2 separate regions of the Homo sapiens genome follow, and region 1 is linked to region 2. The links are contacts of gene promoters, found by promoter capture Hi-C in blood cells and fetal thymus (Javierre and others, 2016). All regions are on one chromosome and are shown on one strand. The core of a region is centred on a gene start or on the middle of the fragment in contact, and the rest is flanking DNA. Distances in the headings are between cores, read along the strand shown. Region 1 overlaps ARHGEF9 (Cdc42 guanine nucleotide exchange factor 9). Region 2 holds the start of PJA1 (praja ring finger ubiquitin ligase 1).

Region 1 (4,852 bases), core at 2,039-4,538, 5.4 Mb before region 2:
CCCTCTATGTTCTTCCCCTTCTAGTTTTTCCTCTTTGTACTTTCGTGCTAGAGCAAAGTACAATAAACTAAATACTCTATGGAGCTAGATCCACCTAAGACAGAAGGAGACACTCTGAGCAGATACTGGAGAAGCTAAACCTTCATCAAGGATTCTTGGAAAGCCAGAGACTCAGTTGGCCTAGAACAAGTTGCAGAGCTGGAAATAAGAGCTAGAGAGTCCAAGATTCCCCTCCTCCATCCCATTTCTTGGGGCAAAGCCACTGGAGCAAGATCCAGATGCCTTGTAGGAGGTCTTCTGAGGAGGCAGTTATTTTGGGAGAAAAGGCTCAATTCTTATATCCCTGCCCAGAGCAAGCACTCTGCAGGTCAAGGGACCAGAAACTGAGATGGCAGACAAAGGCTAAAGAGGAAGACATGCTTTGTTACCATCCTTCAAACCACCAGACTGTGCCCTCTGGTTGCTCTCAATCTGGGCCTTACCTCAAGGGCAGAAGAGCACCTCACCTACAGCCTTTTTGGGATCTTTCAGCTCCCTAGTAGCTGAATCACACACACACCGGTGGGTGAGAGTCTCTGAGCCAGGGTCCAAGCCCTGTTTACCAGCTCCATTATCAAACTTGCTCTTTCAACTTGTCCAGCCTCCCCCGTCAGAAACTACTACACCAAAACCACAGAAAGAAAAATTCCCAAATTCTATAAAGCTAGGCTGATCAGGATTCCCCAAGCCACAGACAAAATTGGGGCACACTGCACAAGCACACTGCAGGTTCTGACAGATGGAGGCTGTCTCAATGGAAGAAGAATGCTGTTCAGTTTGTTCCCACCAAGATATCACTTCACCCCCTCCCTGATGCAGCCAAAAGTTAGGGTGAAAAAAATTGTTTTTTCAGGACCGGCAGAGCTTCTGGCACTAAAGCTAGGCAGTAAAATGGCACAGTTAATCTTAAGGAGATGGGACTGACTAGAAAGGAATTTGAAACCAGGAGTTTTCTAATAAATAATCTCATAGCTGGACGAGGCTAGGCTCTACATGTCTGCTGTGGACATGTTTCCGAGGCATTTGCAGGAAATTGGGATTCTGTTCTTTCTTTGTTCCCTCCCCAAAAGCATCTCTCCAAGTCCCACTAGGCTCTAGTCCCCTTTTTCTAGAGTTATTGGTGCCTGGGCCTTTAAAGGGTGGGCTCTGGAGCTCAGTGGGTGCTCAGTGATACAGGGGTTGCTAGGATACCAGTAGAGGGCATTTTCTTTAATTCTTTGATGGGGATCCAGGAGCGAAAATCCCTAAGCTGGGATTTTGCCCCTCCTACATGGCAAAAGCTTATCCTCTACTCAAAGGGGCCAGAGAGGAGGGAAGGGAATGGAGGAGCTTTATTGGGAAAAGTTGGGACAAATCAGAGAGGAAAAGTCCTCTTCTCTTTTTTACTTCTCACCCATTTACAGTGGGGAGGTGGGAGGAGGAGGTGGTGTCAGGGGTGGGAAGAAAGGAAGAAGGAGAAAGATTAAGAGAGAAGGCAGAGGAGGAAGGAAAAAAGAAGACAAGTCAAAATGCATAGGGTTCCGCTTCTCTGGGCTGCATTTCTCATTTTCTCCCACTCTTTTCTCTTTTTGCTAGAGAAAAATATCCTCACAAGTCTGAAGCAGAAATGCCAAACCTTTAGGATTCACACAAGTAAAAAGTCACACTGCTACCTTTTGTTCTCTACTCTCAAATTCCCTTCTGGTTGCTAGATGGTGGCCTGCCATCTGGCTAGCAACATCCCTTTATTTGCCTGGAGACAATTTTAAAAGCGCTAACCCATTTCAACAGCTAAATTACTAATGGAAGGGCTCATTCAAGACACCTCCTTAGCCTGAGGGGTTTTAGGTGGTGAAAAGAGGAATGGCATGGGTGATACCCATCCATCCCAGCATTTGTGAAATCCTTATAGGTCCTAGCACAAGGAGGCTATTCAGAACTGTGGAACTCAATACTGTCTTTCTTCATTCCTACCACCACACCCCGCATCCACACTCAGGAGTGTGCTCCCCCCCACACACCCCCATGAACATACTGCCACACACCCTACACACACACATACATTCCCAGAGGCTTTCTGCCAAAGGTCTGTCAGGCTCACAGAGGAGAAGGCATTTCGTGACACTATTTAAGTCATAAACCTAGATCAAAGACTAGTCTCAGAGACCCCTTCTCCCCTTGGGGGAAAAAAAGTCAAAAAGCATTCCCTTATTGCTGTCCCAGTTTCCTTCCCAAATAACTAGGCAAAAAAAACCCCTTCGCTTAAACTTGTTATCCAGGCTGTAGTACCAGATATCCTTCCCCTCCTCCCATCACCCTTTGATTAACATTTTCTTTTCCTTTTCACTTGTCTTTCCAGCTCATCCCCCCCACCCCCCACAACTTCAAGTGTCTAGGGGTCATAAAATCATAAAATGCAAGAACTTGGAAGTCACCTAGTGGAGCCATCAAAAAATGCCAATGTTACTGGGAATCCCAAACCCACCGAGGAGGAAAAAAATTGTCCAAGGTCAAACAGCTGCTGAATGGAAAAAACAAAAAACAAAACAAAACAAAACAAAAAAACAGGTCTGCAGCTGCCCAGCATAGAGCCATTCCCCACTCTCCAACACTGTATCAAAACAAAGTGCCCAGAAAAGATATAAGCTTACTTTAAATAATACAATGAAGCTAAGGGGGGAAAAAAACTCACTAAATTATCTTTGCAAAGAAATAGGTTCTCAGTTCCATCCAGGGGGTCTCCACAAACGGACCAAAGAGTAATTAATAAGAACCAATGCCAGCAAACCTCCCAGATCATGTTTACACCATGGTACTAATCTCACAAAAACCTCAGCTTCTCACCCACACCAAGTCAAGGATAGCATGCTTTGAGGCCCAAAACACCCTCTGACGCCATTAAATAATACTCTCTGGGTCCTGTGGCCAAGACAATTTCAAAGGCCCCCTTCACAGCCCCTCTCCTTTCATAATCATTTCCAAAGAGACTGAACAACCGGACATGGAACTTGACAGCATAATGCCAGCAGATTTGCACATCAGACATGAACAGCCACCCACATGGGTGGAGGGGGAGCATGTGTGTAGATGTGTATGTGTCCTGATTCACTGCTATAATACATGAGCCATAAATGGCATTATTTCAAGCCAGGTAAGCAATGGAATGGGGAAAGCCTGCCTACATTAACAGGGGAGAAAGAAAATCAAAACGCAAAAAAACAAGTATTATACAGACTGGCATGAGACATTTTTTTTCCTGGCTCTGCCAAGAGCTTTCTCAGAGGAAACAGAAATATAAAAATAATAGCAATAGCAATAACAACAGAAACCACCACCACCATCTGATACAGACAAGCAGTCATATCTCAAACTGGAATGTTGCTTCCAGCTCATGTTTTCCATGCTCTCATCCCTTTCCTTCTAGACGTTTTTGGGTTTTGGTGGTCAAATTTAGCACCAAAATTTGATAACTCTTAATTTAGCACATTACAGACTTTCAGTTTGTTATGGGAATGTTTCAATTACAGAGACCTCTGATCTTAAAGTAACAAACGGGAGCAAACAATAGCATCACCACTTTCTCATCAGCCTTATCAAGTTACATTTAAAATGTAGTTCAAGAACATCATTGCAAACGAGATTATCCCAAAGGAGCCATATCCAAATACTATTATTCCCAAGGTGGATAAAGAGCTGTTTTTTCTTTCTTGTGGGGTTTTTTTTTTTTTTTGATGAGACAAACAAAATCCCCAAACTCAAATCCAGGGGTACAATCTTTGGGAAAGGGAGCCCAAATAGCTCCTGTCAAAGTCCTCTCTTGCCAGTTCAAAAAATCAGAGAATGCTTTCACATACTATTTCATGATTCCAAGGAAATTGACATTTTAAATATCTTAAAGCTTTAAGGTTCAAGAAGTGTTTTAAATGTGGCTTCTTTCAAAATTGAAAATTGTGAACCCTGGAGAGCAAATTGAGATTCAAAGGACACAGTCACCAACTGCCAGCACAACACACCCGTGTCACTTCCCAAATTCTTGCTTCTCCTTAGACACTAAAGAAGCATTTTCCCTAAATCCATTCCTTGCATCGATTATTTTCCCTCTAAATATCCACTGCAAAGACTGTCTTTCCTATGATGTCAAATATTCATCATGCTCTTCCACAAACCCTTTTCCCCTCAAACAAACCCAAATGCACTCCTGATGGCAAGAGAGAAATTTTGACTAAAATTCCCTGATGGAGTTTAAAGGTAGTCTTCAAGGAAATGAGTTAAGACACCACAGACAGCAAAGCCACTGTTTAAGGACGCAGAGCTTGCTCCATGAACGCCACATAGATTAAAAATGCACACACGCATGCACACTTAAATAGAAAGCATTTCTTCATCAACAATTTCACTCAAGCAATAGGCAACTATACGCGCAGGCATTCTTAAAAGACAAGACACGACAAAAGATTTAGGGAGAGATAATATACCAACGTCATACATATCACAGCGAGGCCATGTTGAAGCTCAAAACGTTTTCCCCCCTGAGTAAGAAAGCTTGTTCTTTCTCTCTCTTTCCCTGTCTCTGTCTGTGATTTTTTTTTTTTCTCGGTGGCTCTCGGGATGAAATCAAAGCGAGAGTTCGCGACAGCTCAGGTGGCTGGACTCCATTCAGCGCGTTCCCAGGAAAAACATGAGTATGACATTGACAAGCAGGAGGACTACAATCACGGCAAAAACGACTACAGTTTGCACATCCAGGGTCATGGTGCAATGCAGAACACTGTAGTGTTCCAGGTGGGGGGCCGGCAGATTGGGAGATGTCAGTCTCTGTTCTGTCAGACTGTCC
Region 2 (4,760 bases), core at 692-3,191:
TTGCAGGAAAGCCAGACTTAGAGGAGAATCTGACGGAAGGTTGGGGGGTGACTGGACGCTTGGAAGGTGGGTGAAGTACTGTGGAATTGTGCAACGTGGGGAAAGGAAAGACTGCTATAGTTTTTTTTATGGGGTGTCTGCATTTTTCTGAGTGCTGCAGACATACAGGAGAAATGCAAATTGGAATAGAGTGGAAAATACAGATCGCCGTGTGTGCACGAGTGCCTATGTGTCTGTCTATCAAGAGGAGAGGGACAGGTGGAAGGGGACCAGTAATCCTGCAACAGAGGGATGTTTACGTTTGTAGGGGGAAAGGGTATGAGTGTTAGAATGAGACCCATTCTGGATGTGGGTATGAAAATGACAGGCATGGGTGGGGTGGCTTTGGAGGAGAGGGGTGCGTGTATGTATGAGGAAAGGGAAGGTGTTTGTGTGTGTAGCTGTATGTGAGGCAGCTGAAACTACAGAAGGATGCCCATGTTTATGCGTATGTCACAGGCAGAGGAGTGTATGGTTGGCAATGGAGAGGAGTGTCTGAGAGTTTGTGTGTGTGTATGTTAGTCAAAATGGGAGGCAACAATGGAGAAATGTCAGTGTGAGCAAATGCAGCAGGCACAAATGGAAGCGGGGGTGGGGGGTGCGCAGCACTGGAGAGGGATGTGCTTGAGGTGGATGGAACAGAGGCAGGCAATCAAAGAATGATGCCTGCCTGTGTGGATATGGCAAGCAGGGAGGCAGGTTGTGTCCCCGTAGAAGGATTTATGTGAGTGCGAGTGTGTGCACCTCAGGGACCAGCAAAAGAGAGCTGTGTCTGACACACGTGGCAGACAGAGCAATAGAGGAGAGCATTTGAGAAGGGGGTATGAATGAGCACATGTGGCTACATATGTATGTCACTGGCCAGCGATAGAAGGATGTCCTTATGTGTGTATATGACAGGAAGGAAGAAGGAGGGCAGCCGGAGGGGGTGTGTGAATAGGCATGTGTTCGCGAGAGCACGCAGAGGCCGAGCAGGGAGGGGGCCGGTGCTAGAGGTGTGTATGTGGTAGGCGGATAGAGGAGGGGGAAGGCATGGGAGGGTGTGAGGGTGTGAGGGTGTGTGAGAGGGTGTGTGCTGCGTGTGCCTGCGCATGCGCGGGGGAGGGGAAGCACTGGAACCTTGAGGATGGAGGGGCAAGGAGGGGGCTGCAATGGAAGGCTTCTGTGCGGGGGCGCGTGCTCGCGACACACGGGGGGTGGGGGGTAGGGGGGACGCAATGTCATAAAAAGAGGTGGGAAAAGGCCATCAGCTCAAACGGGAGACCCCAACCGATGTGGCAGGGGAGAGGGAAAATGAAAGAAAAGGGCGTGCGTGGGTCTAGTTTTCCCTGAGAATAATTATTTTTTCCTTCCAATTTTTTCCCTGGGAACAGTATTTTTACCTAAAAATCTTAACCATTTACCATTTGGCAAAACAACAGCAAAATATGGGAAGAAAGGCCACGGAGTGCTCCGCAAAGGGGCCGAGGAGGGAAGAAGGAAGGAGAGGGGAGGAGAGGCAGGGAGAAGTGGGAGAGGGCCGCGACCACCACTGCCCTCCCAATAGCGATGAAAGCCACTCGAGTGGGGACCGCGCCACACCAAAGGGGTTCCGGCAGCGGAAGATGTGGCCCCAGAACAGGCCGATGGAGGACATGGGCCTCACTCTGCAGTCAGGTCCCGCGTCCGCCCCACCCCTTCCCGAGGGGCGAACCTGAAAAGCAGTTCCCAGGAACCCCCCAAAATCCTCGCCCCCGTGCCCGGCCACTCGCCCCGCGCCCGGCCACTCGCGCCACCGCCAGCGCCCGGATGAATCGAGGAAACAATCAGCCTTTCACTCACCAAGTCCAGAAAGCCACACGCTTTTCAGAGAAGCAGAGCTCTCGGATCTCCGACCGCCACGACCGCCAGAGCCGCTGCTCCCGGTCCCGAGCTCCTCCCCCGCCAGACAGCAGCGGGGCGGGCGGCGACTGCGGCGGCGGAAGTGATTGTGAAGTCAGCTGGAGCCCGCCTCCTTGATGTGGCGGGGGCGGCAGCTGCTCTCCACAAATCAGGGTGGGCCCGAAAGCATTATTTCATCTTAAATGATGAAATCGTCAAGGATACAGAAAAGGACAGCGAAAAATGTCACAAACACCCAGCTTTAACTAATGTTAAACATTTAGCTATATTGCCTTCTGGTTTTTTAATAAATAAAATAAAATCTGCAAATTCTTTCTGATTAAGTCCAATGTGAGAGTAATTACGTTACTACATCACATCCTATGTTACGTGTTATGGTTGTACCGAAAGTATTAAAACTGTGAAACCATATTTAGGGTTGCAGTAAGCTTAAATTTTTTTTAACCTGATGGTTAAAGCAAATTGAAGCTGTTTATGTTGAATTTGTTGCTGCTAATCACAAAACCAAGCTTCTCTGTCCAAGAGATCATAGGACACAACACAGGTTCATATTCTGTTATTGCATTGCAGTTAAAAATATTGTAGTTACGCCTTTTGGATTTATACCATTTTACTGAATTCTGAAGTCTTTAAATTGCGCTTTATAATGGAACTCTAGTATTTACAGCCAATGTAAACATTTCCCATGTTCACAACAGTAGCAAAGTTTTGTTCTTACTGGAAACAAAATGCATAATAGAACAAAAATCTTAGGGGTAACAACATAATAGAAATAAAATGTATAACTTTCAAACCATTAAAGTAATAATATGTGGAACAAAGAGAAAAACTCATTCTTAACAAAGGTCAAGAAATGTTGCTGGGGGGGTACAAAAAAAAGGATGCAAAAAGAAAACAAAAATGCAGGAATCCAAATATATCAGCATGCATTATGGGTTAACATCTCCTAATAAAAACCAAACTCTTATTTTGAGCATTTTGTTTTTAAAAGCTAAGTTATATTCTATTTATGTGAGTTTCACCTAAAGCAGAAATAGGAATAAAAAATATATGAGAGTAAAATACTAGCAGAAAAAAGGGAGAGAGGGAATGAGGGAAGGAAAGAAGCAAAAAAAAAAAAAAGGAAGGAAAGGAAGGAGGAAACAAACTCGTAACAATATCAATATCCTAAACATCGAGAACTCAAAGTAAAAAGAACTAAAGAGAACAAAACAGGTTGCTTTATTCACTGAGAAAGATATGACAAGCTGGTGGTGTGTGCCTGTAGTCCCAACTACTTAGGAGGCTGAAGCAGGAGGATTGTGTGAGCCCAGGAGGTTGAGGCTGAAGTGAGTGAAGATCACGCCACTGCACTCCAGCCTGGACAACCAAGCAAGATGCCATCTCAAAATGATGATGATAATAATAACAATAATAGAACTTCATTGGTGAGAAATCTGAAACTATCAAATTTTTTAATGGAGATACATTTTCATCTAGCAATTCTACTTCTAGTCAATTGCTCTATTGTGTGTTCTATTGAGACACACAAATGGAGAAAGATATGTGAATAGGAGTGTAGCAAGATAATGCAAACAACTTTAATTCTCCTCAACAAATAAATTGTTTAAATTTATTTAAACATGTTGCATGGTGGCTCATGTACAGACATGGTGGTTGACACCTGTAATCGCAGCACTTTGGGAGACCAAGGCAGGAGGATTGCTTGAGCCCAGGAGTTGAGACCAGCCTGGACAATATGGTGAAACCCCATCTCTACAAAAAAAACGTAAAAATTTCCCTGGCGCAATGGTACGTGCCTGTAGTCCCAGCTACTTGGGAGGCTGAGGTGGGAGAATCACTTGAGCCCAGGAGGTTGAGGCTGCAGTGAGCCAAGATTGCGCCACTGTGATCCAGCCTGGGCAATAGTCAGACCCTGTCTCAAAAAAAAAAAAAAAAAAAAGAAAGAAAGAAAGAAGGCAAGTATATATGTATATATGTACTGGTCTAATATAAATATATTAAGTGAAAAAAGCATGTTGCAGAACAGTGCATTTTAAAAAAAAACATATGATAGTCACAAAAATTTATGTGCCAAACAATGTAGTTTCAAAATATATAAAGCAAATACTGTTAGAAATATAAAGAGAGATCAGGAAGTCTGCAATTATAGTGGGAAACTTCACCTCATTTCTTATGGTATAGATAAATCAAATAGACTGCAAAATAAATAACGATATGAGGAAATGGGACAGTACAATATACCGAATGTATATGTATTTTTGTTTTTTTGAGACAGAGTCTTGCTCTGTCATCCAGGCTGGAGTACAGTGGTAAAATCTTGGCTCACTGCAACCTCCACCTCCCGAGTTCAAGCAATCTCCTGCCTCAGCCTCCTGAGTTGCTGGGACTGCAGGTGTGCACCACCACACCCAGCTAGTTTTTGTATTTTTTAGTGGAAATGGGGTTTCACCATGTTGACCAGGCTGGTCTCGAATTCCTGATCTCAAGCAATCCACCTGCATCGGTATCCCAAAGTGCTGGAGTTACAAGCGTGAGCCACTGTGCCCAGCTTGTATATGTATTTTTGGACTCAAGAGAGGATACATTTTCTTTATAAAAATATTTTTAAATATGTCAACTATACAGAAAAGTAGAGTATAAAATACACATTTTAATGCACCTGTCACATGGATTGAGCAAATTTTATTTTCTCCAGATCCTCAGATCCTTCTGTTTTTGAAACAAAATAGTACAGATGAAGCCCTCACTTCATCCTATTCACTTGACCTCTCTCTTGAAAATAAGCCTTATTTGGAAGTTGATGTGCTGTCGTCTTGTTCATGTTTGTGTGTGTGTGT

What was found. Contacts are between HindIII fragments. The CHiCAGO score rates a contact against its expected background, and 5 or more counts as called.
Region 1: a contact is called between a fragment that was not itself captured here and the fragment with the promoter of PJA1 in region 2, in 1 of 17 cell types (total CD8 T cells). The highest score is 5.5, in total CD8 T cells.

Annotation. Positions count from the first base shown.
Region 1 is chrX:63,749,811-63,754,662 of GRCh38, forward strand. The region is part of intron 1 of ARHGEF9 (Cdc42 guanine nucleotide exchange factor 9); the gene reads right to left. LOC128031833 reads right to left here. Exons shown (of 1, transcript NM_001414729.1): 1 at 4,675-4,852. The coding sequence ends at 4,675. Among named protein-coding and RNA genes, the nearest start is that of ARHGEF9, 33 kb to the right of the region's middle. The HindIII fragment of the contact is 1,252 bases long and covers 2,663-3,914 here.
Region 2 is chrX:69,163,512-69,168,271 of GRCh38, forward strand. It overlaps PJA1 (praja ring finger ubiquitin ligase 1), which reads right to left and starts at 1,942. Exons shown (of 2, transcript NM_001032396.4): 1 at 1,861-1,942. The HindIII fragment of the contact is 4,972 bases long and covers 1-2,346 here.